2 separate regions of the Homo sapiens genome follow, and region 1 is linked to region 2. The links are contacts of gene promoters, found by promoter capture Hi-C in human tissues and cell types (Jung and others, 2019). All regions are on one chromosome and are shown on one strand. Each heading gives the region's core, a stretch centred on a gene start or on the middle of the fragment in contact. The rest is flanking DNA. Distances are from core to core; before and after follow the strand shown.

Region 1 (3,581 bases), core at 1,068-3,567, 180 kb before region 2:
TAAAGCCTGCTTTTTTATTTCATCTGATTCCAAGAAGTAGAAAAGAATGCTTATTTAACAGTTACTGCCATCTTCGCTCACATACAGAGTACATGGGGGAGTCAAGACATTTCCTGAAAATCCCTCAGAGGTGAGTGAGGTAGTGACTTGGGGTAGCAAGACTGTCCTCCTAAGTCAGTTGAGGAGTGACATCGGGATGAAGCTCCACCCACAAGCCCTGCCCACAGAGGTCTTCTCCCTGAGTGTGTCCTCCTTTAGTACAAGATGAGGTTTAACTTATTGCTAATGTGTTTCACATTTTCCCTCCCCACCCATGTAAAGCTTGTCCCAAAAAAGCTGTTCTTTGATGAGGACTTTTTCCTAAGTCCTTGTCCATTCTCCCCACACATGCAGAATTTCTATTCAATATACTCTGGGGCTTACTGCGGGGTGACTCATGGCTGAAGCCTTATCTACACTCCTTATATACCTAACATGTCTTAGAATCAATTATCTGGACAGACAACGAGACAGAAAATTGAGGATTCACTGGGGAGTGAGGGCAGGACTGGGCAGAGGAAGAAGCTGACCTGCAATGTGTCTGCAACCCAGTGATCCTTCAGTTCGATGGGGATCTCTGGATCTGGAATGACCTTCTGGAGTTGTCCCCGTTGAGTCAAGGGTTGGGGCCAGAAGGTACCCCTGCAAAGGTGCATTGCCCCTGTGGTGCATGCAGCTCCCTGTGGCTGAGAGTGAGTTCCAGAGCGGAGTGCATCTCTGGAATGCATCTCTGCCAGCAGCAACACTGTTCTCTCAAGCAGCTGGGGTGTTACCCCTGAAAAGGTCATCTGGGCAGAGCTCCACAGTGTCCCCACATGCAGATTCTCCCTGTGGTGTGTGATCACAAAAGCTTTGCCCATACATCCTACAAACAAAGACCTCCTTCCTGAGGGCCACTCTGTGCCTGAGTGTCCATTCTTTTACTGATGCTCCCCAACACTCCCCAGACAAGGGTGCTTTCCCCTGAGGCTGTCATTGGATGTCTGGTAAATGTTGATTATTGCTAAAGCCTTCCCACAGTCCCTACACATAAACTTCTCTCCTAAGTGTGTCCTTTTGTGCATGCTCAAGGCTGACTGATGGCTACAGTTGCCCGTACTCTATACTCATAAGGCTCCTCTCCTGAACGTGTCCCTCCCATGCCTGATAAGGGCTGACACATCTCTGGAACTTCACTCACAATCTGTGTACACAGGGTCTACTCCCCATGTGTCTCTCTGGGGTAACATGAGGCTTGACTGGTCACTCAGGTCTTGTTCATGACCCCTGCATACACAGGTTTCTCCCGTCAGTGTGTCCTCTGGTGTCTGATGAGATTTGACTTATGACTAAAGCCTCGCCCACACTCCCTACAAACATAATGCTTCTCCCCTGAGTGTGTCCTCTGGTGGACAAGGAGGAGTGATTTCCGGCTAAAGCCTCGGCCACACTCACTGCACACGTAAGGCTTCTCTCCTGAGTGTGTCCTCTCATGTACAATGAGGGTTGACTTGTCACAAAAGCCTCGCCCACATTCCCTGCAAATATAAGGCTTCTCATTTGAGTGCGTCCTCTGGTGTCTGATGAGATTTGACTTCTGGCTAAAACCTCGCCTACACTCCCTGCAGACATAATGCTTCTCCCCTGAGTGTGTCCTCTGGTGGACAAGGAGGAGTGATTTCCGACTAAAGCCTCGGCCACACTCACCACACACATAAGGCTTCTCTCCAGAGTGCGTCCGCTCGTGTATGATGAGGGTTGACTTGTCACAAAAGCCTCGCCCACACTCCCTGCAAACATAAGGCTTCTCATCCAAGTGTGTCCTCTGGTGTTTGATGAGATCTGAGTTCTGGCTAAAGCCTCGCCCACACTCCCTGCAAACATAAGGCTTCTCCCCTGAGTGTATCCTCTGGTGTTTTCTGAGGGTTGACTTATCACAAAAGCTTCGTCCACACTCCAGGCACACATAGGGTTTCTCACCGGAGTGTGTCCTCTGGTGTCTGATGAAGGATGACTTCTCGCTAAAGCCTCGCCCACACTCGCTGCAAACATAGGGCTTCTCCTCTGAGTGAGTCCACTGATGTCTATTGAGGATGGACTTACTTCTAAAGCTTTGCCCACACTCCCTGCACAAATAAGGCTTCTCTTCTGAATGTGTTCTCTGGTGTCTGCTGAGGTTGGACTTCTGGCTAAAACCTCGCCCGCACTCACTGCACACATAAGGCTTCTCCATCGAGTGTATACGATGGTGTCTGATGAGGGTTGATCTATCTTTAAAGCTTCGCCCACAATCACTGCAAATGTAGGGCTTCTTCCCTAAGAGGGTCCTCGGGTTTGTAATAAAGTTTGATTCCAGGTTATGGTCCGGTTCATACTCTCTACAGTTGATTGCTCCAAATCTCAAGGTTTCTAATTCCTTCAAGCCTTTGTCTAGCTGCACAGGGTTTGGTCTTTGGGCTGAGCTGGGCTCTGTTTCTACCACCATGTTGCCTTTTCTAGGACTTGCTGACTGTCTTTGGAGTGGGCTGGGGAATGCCCTTGAGGTTTCTCTCTCCTCTGTCCTTGCAGACCAGGGTTTGGAGCCACCTCCTCTCTCCTGACCTTCTGCATTTTCAAACCAACAGCTTACATGGGAATACTGCTGCCCCTGCTGTTTCCAATGCCCTGGGCTAGAATTCCCTGGATGGAAGTGATTTTCTGCACATAAGCCCAGGAAGATCTGAAGTACATGTTGACTGAGGAACTGCTGACAGGAGAAGGCCAGAAGGCAGGAGGAACAAGTGTAGATTTCTGGCTTTGGTTCTGCTGAAGAATGAAAGTTTTCTGTTAGAGTAGCCATAAGTAGGGCTGCTGAGTTGTTCTGCCTTGTCTTAGGACAGAGAATGTTTTACTGCCATGCCTATAATTGATAATATAAGTATAACACAATTTGCTTCTGAACAATGATTCCTTTACATTCCATCACATTTTCTATTGCAATCCAGAAAATCCATAACAAAAATATCTTGAGAAACCAGGAACCTCTCAAGTGAGTATTCTGCTCTGTAAACAGCTTCAATCATAGTTAGCCTTCTCCTAAGCCATAGACATTCACATTGGTATATACTGTCCACAGCTCTTTGTTCTGCTTGGAGATAGTGGTCTCTATGACACATGTGGAAATCTCCTTCATGACTTTTCTTATTATATAAAAAAGGGTCTGATAGACATAAAAAGTCCCTCATTCTGGAGGGCTTCCGAATGTAGGAGAAAGTGTATGGAATACTGGTTAAAGAAATTATTGTATATAAAACAAATATAAATTTCAGGCTGCCCACCTGTAAACAAAGACTTATTAGAAAATGCCAAAGTACTAGGTTCTCTACTAAGTATTATGAATTCAGTAATGAACAAGAAAGACATGGTCCATGATTTTAGGATTCTGGCACCAAGCCAAAACAACAAAATCTGCCTTTCTTTCCACTTTTCATAAATCAGTAAAAAGAAAAACTTTTCATTTACAGCAGCACCTGCCTACAAAATATCAAAACTAGATGTTGCATTTCATCACAACATGATCTATC
Region 2 (3,518 bases), core at 518-3,017:
GATATGGAAGATGAACTATAGGGGCAGAACTAGAAGCCAAAAAAATCAAATGAGGAGATTAAAGCGCGGAAGACAAAAGAAAAGGGGCAGCTAGGCACGGTGGCTCACGCCTATAATCGCAGCAGTTTGGGATGCAGAGGTGGGTGGATCACTTGAGGTCAAGAGTTCGAGACCAGCCTGGCCAACATGGTAAAACCCTCTCTCTACTAAAAATACAAAAATTAGCCTGGGCATGGTGGCTCACACTTGTAATCCCAGCACTGTGGGAGGCCAAGGCGGGCAGATCACAAGGTCAGGAGTTCGAGACCAGCCTGACCAACATGGTGAAACCCCATCTCTACTAAAAATACAAAAATTAGCCAGGCATGGTGGCACGCTCCTGTAATACCAGCCAGCTACTCAGGAGGCTGAGGCAGGAGAATCACTTGAACCCGGGAGGCAGAGGTTGCAGTGAGCTGAGATGGCAACATTGCACTCCAGCCTGGGCGACAGAGCGAGACTCTGTCTTAAAACAAAACAAACACAAAAATTAGCTGGGTGTGGTGGTGCACACCTGTAGTCGCAGCTACTCAGGAGGCTGAGGCAGGAGAATTGCTTGAACCAGGGACGGGGAGGTTGCAGTGAGCCGAGATCGCGCCACTGCACTCCAGCCTGGGCGACAGAGCAAGAAGAAACAAAGAGGAAGGAAGGGAGGGGAAAAAAAAAAAAAGAAAAGGGGCAGCTAAAAGTGGTATTCCAGAAATGCAATGAATAAGATTTGATGACAGTTGATGTAGCCTCAGGACAGACTCAGAACCCCTGGAACTTTTCTGCATAGACAGCTGACATGATCTCTCAACTCCTGGGCTCCCAATGGGAAGGAACAAATGTCCAAATACCAATGGTGGTTGCCCTGGAGTTAATATAATTGCATAGCATGTGGGGAGAAGGGCTTAATAAACATTTGGTCATTTGATTTTAAATGGCACATGGACAAGTGGCAAGAGGGCACACATACCAATGATGGCCACTTTGTTCTCCTTCATGGAACTCAGCACCTGCTCCAGCTTCTCCTCAGATGCCATATTCTGCACCTCACTCAGGTGGTGCTCCTGGAACTCCACTGGGACAGCGGCAGCCTTCAGAGACAGGTTCCCAAAACATCACAGTCAAGGCCAAGTCCTTTCCAACACACTACTGTCCTCTACTGTCTGATCCCCGAGGCCACTCACCTTGAACACCTCCTTGACGGCGTGCATCAGCTCAGGCCCCACACCGTCTCCCGGAAGCATGGTCACGGGAAAGGAGCCCTCCACCCTCACGTCCTCGGCCTCAATTGGGGGAAGAGGGGAGAAGTAAAGATAGAGCTGGGGCGGGAGCACGGATCCTGGGAGTAGAGAAGTAGGGAGACCCGGGAGGGGTGGGGAAAAGCCAGGGGAGGGAGCAGCGAGGAAGGGACAGGGTCGTAAGAGAGACCCCAGCCAGATTCGTGCATACCTGGCTCCGCGATGCAGCGTGCGCCGCGGCCGAGGTACTCAGACCTCTCCATGCCCCAGGGTTCCCGGCGGAGACCAGCGCCTGCAACAGGGACACACAAGCCTGTAAGGTCAGCTTTGAGACATCCAGACCCCGAACACTACAGTTGACTTTGCCCTGTTTAGGAAACCCTAGGACAAACTCTCCGCTCCTTCGCCCGCCCCTGCCCGACATGTCCCGGGGCCTCACTCGGGTCAGCCAGCGGACTCCGCTCAATGCCGCCATGTTTCCCGCAGGAAGTCGCGTGGGAAGTGACGCCTGAAGCTGGCGCGGCCCCGTACCCCGACTTCCGGCCTGTACTGAGTTCCTGGTATTTCTCTCTCTGCGCCAACCAGCACTGCTTGCTCACGCCTGTTTCTCCTTTTCCTTGCCGGTGGGGAGGTCATGGGATGCGCAAGCACTTTGTCTCTTGCTTTGTTTTCAGTCGCCATATTTAATCTACGTCGAAACTTCAAAATAACATTAGGGGGAAAAATGTAGCGTCATGTTTATCAGACGAGGACCTGAGCTTAACAAGCGATTGAGAGAAAATCCTTGGGAAGCTGTTAAAATTTGTGTGTCAATGCGTTTGTTATTCTTTTAACCAGTACTCACTGAATACCTGTATGTCAGGCTCTCGAGGAATACAGTACAGACATGGGAGGTGTGTGTCGGGTTTCTCCGCCAGTCTCCGAGAGTGCCCAGGACCTCTGTATTACCCGTCGCCTCGTAGTTTTTTCTTACAGGGTTTTGTTCTTTGCTCTGACAGTTATTTCCCTAATAGTGTGTCCCGGACTTGAACTCCCCAGGACAGGCCCATAACTAGTGTCAGAAATGAGTTCAAGCGTGTAAGTGTGACTAAAGGGAATTTCAGACTGATCCTTAAAGTAACAATCATAAAAACTAAAAAAAGCCTGGACAACATAGGGAGACCTCGACTCTACAAAAAATTTAAAAATTAGCCAGGCGTGGTGACACACCTGTAGTCCCAGCTACTTAGGAGGCTGAGGTGGGAGGATCACTTAAGCCCGGGAGGTGGAAGCCGTAGTGAGCCGTGATGGCACCACTGCACTCCAGCCTGGGAGACGGGGCGAGACCCGTCTCAAAACAATTACAGTCACGATTTTTTTTTTTTTTTTTTTGAGACAGAGTCTCGCTCTGTCGCCCAGGCTGGAGTGCGGTGGTGCGATCTCGGCTCACTGCAAGCTCCGCCTCCTGGGTTCACCCCATTCTCCTGCCTCAGCCTCCCGAGTAGCGCCCGCCATCACACCTGGCTAATTTTTTTTTTTTTTTTTTTTTTTTTTTGTATTTTTAGTGGAGACGGGGTTTCACCGTGGTCTCGATCTCCTGACGTCGTGATCCGCCCGCCTCGGCCTCCCAAAGTGCTGGGATTACAGGCGTGAGCCACCAAGCCCGGCCTCCAGTCACGATTTTAGGTGTGTACAATTGACACACCTAAAGACAAACTGGTACAGGAAGATTTGCCTCACCCGCTCTTCTGGAAGTATGGTTTTGGATCACCTATCCAGATGGACCAGAGCTCTTGTTAAAAGTGCAGGCTTGTGAGTCATACTTCATTTGCTGAATCCAAATCTCAGTGATGGGGGCCCAGAAAATATATCTCTAACAGGCTCCCCGTTAATACACACTGAAATTTAAGAACCACTAGCTAGGTTCTCTGTGATAAGTTCCTCCTTCGTATATACCTCAACCAGCCAAAAAGGTGGCAACGCAAAGGCATTCCCAGTGCTTCTATTCTTGGGGAATATGCATAGGCTTTGTGCCTCCTCTGCAATCCTTTAGGTGCGACATTCTCCTATATAGTAGTAGGATGAGAAGATTAAACTAGGTAATGTGTAAGAGTTTTGAACAAATGAAAAGTACTGGGTAAATATAGAGCTGTTATTATAGCTAATATAATATTAGTATAACACACTCCTCTATTTCCATTCATATATCCCATGAAACCAACCAAAACCAGAGAGCACCACCGTCTTGCTCCCATAGACTCCCTCGTCCCAGCT

The links. Contacts are between HindIII fragments. The study calls those that stand out against the background at their distance.
Region 1: a fragment that was not itself captured here is called in contact with the fragment with the promoter of IDH3B in region 2 in 1 of the 25 tissues and cell types used here (dorsolateral prefrontal cortex).

What each region holds. Positions count from the first base shown.
Region 1 is chr20:2,481,834-2,485,414 of GRCh38, forward strand. It overlaps ZNF343 (zinc finger protein 343), which reads right to left. Exons shown (of 6, transcript NM_024325.6): 6 at 1-2,823. The coding sequence ends at 1,328. Among named protein-coding and RNA genes, the nearest start is that of SNRPB, 13 kb to the left of the region's middle. The HindIII fragment of the contact is 4,668 bases long and covers 1-3,581 here.
Region 2 is chr20:2,662,449-2,665,966 of GRCh38, forward strand. It overlaps IDH3B (isocitrate dehydrogenase (NAD(+)) 3 non-catalytic subunit beta), which reads right to left and starts at 1,768. Exons shown (of 12, transcript NM_006899.5): 1 at 1,705-1,768; 2 at 1,477-1,557; 3 at 1,212-1,310; 4 at 998-1,118. The coding sequence starts at 1,740. IDH3B-DT (IDH3B divergent transcript) reads left to right here and starts at 1,826. Exons shown (of 3, transcript NR_186432.1): 1 at 1,826-2,158; 2 at 2,810-3,056. RefSeq lists enhancers at 45-832, 2,406-3,191. The HindIII fragment of the contact is 10,496 bases long and covers 1-3,518 here.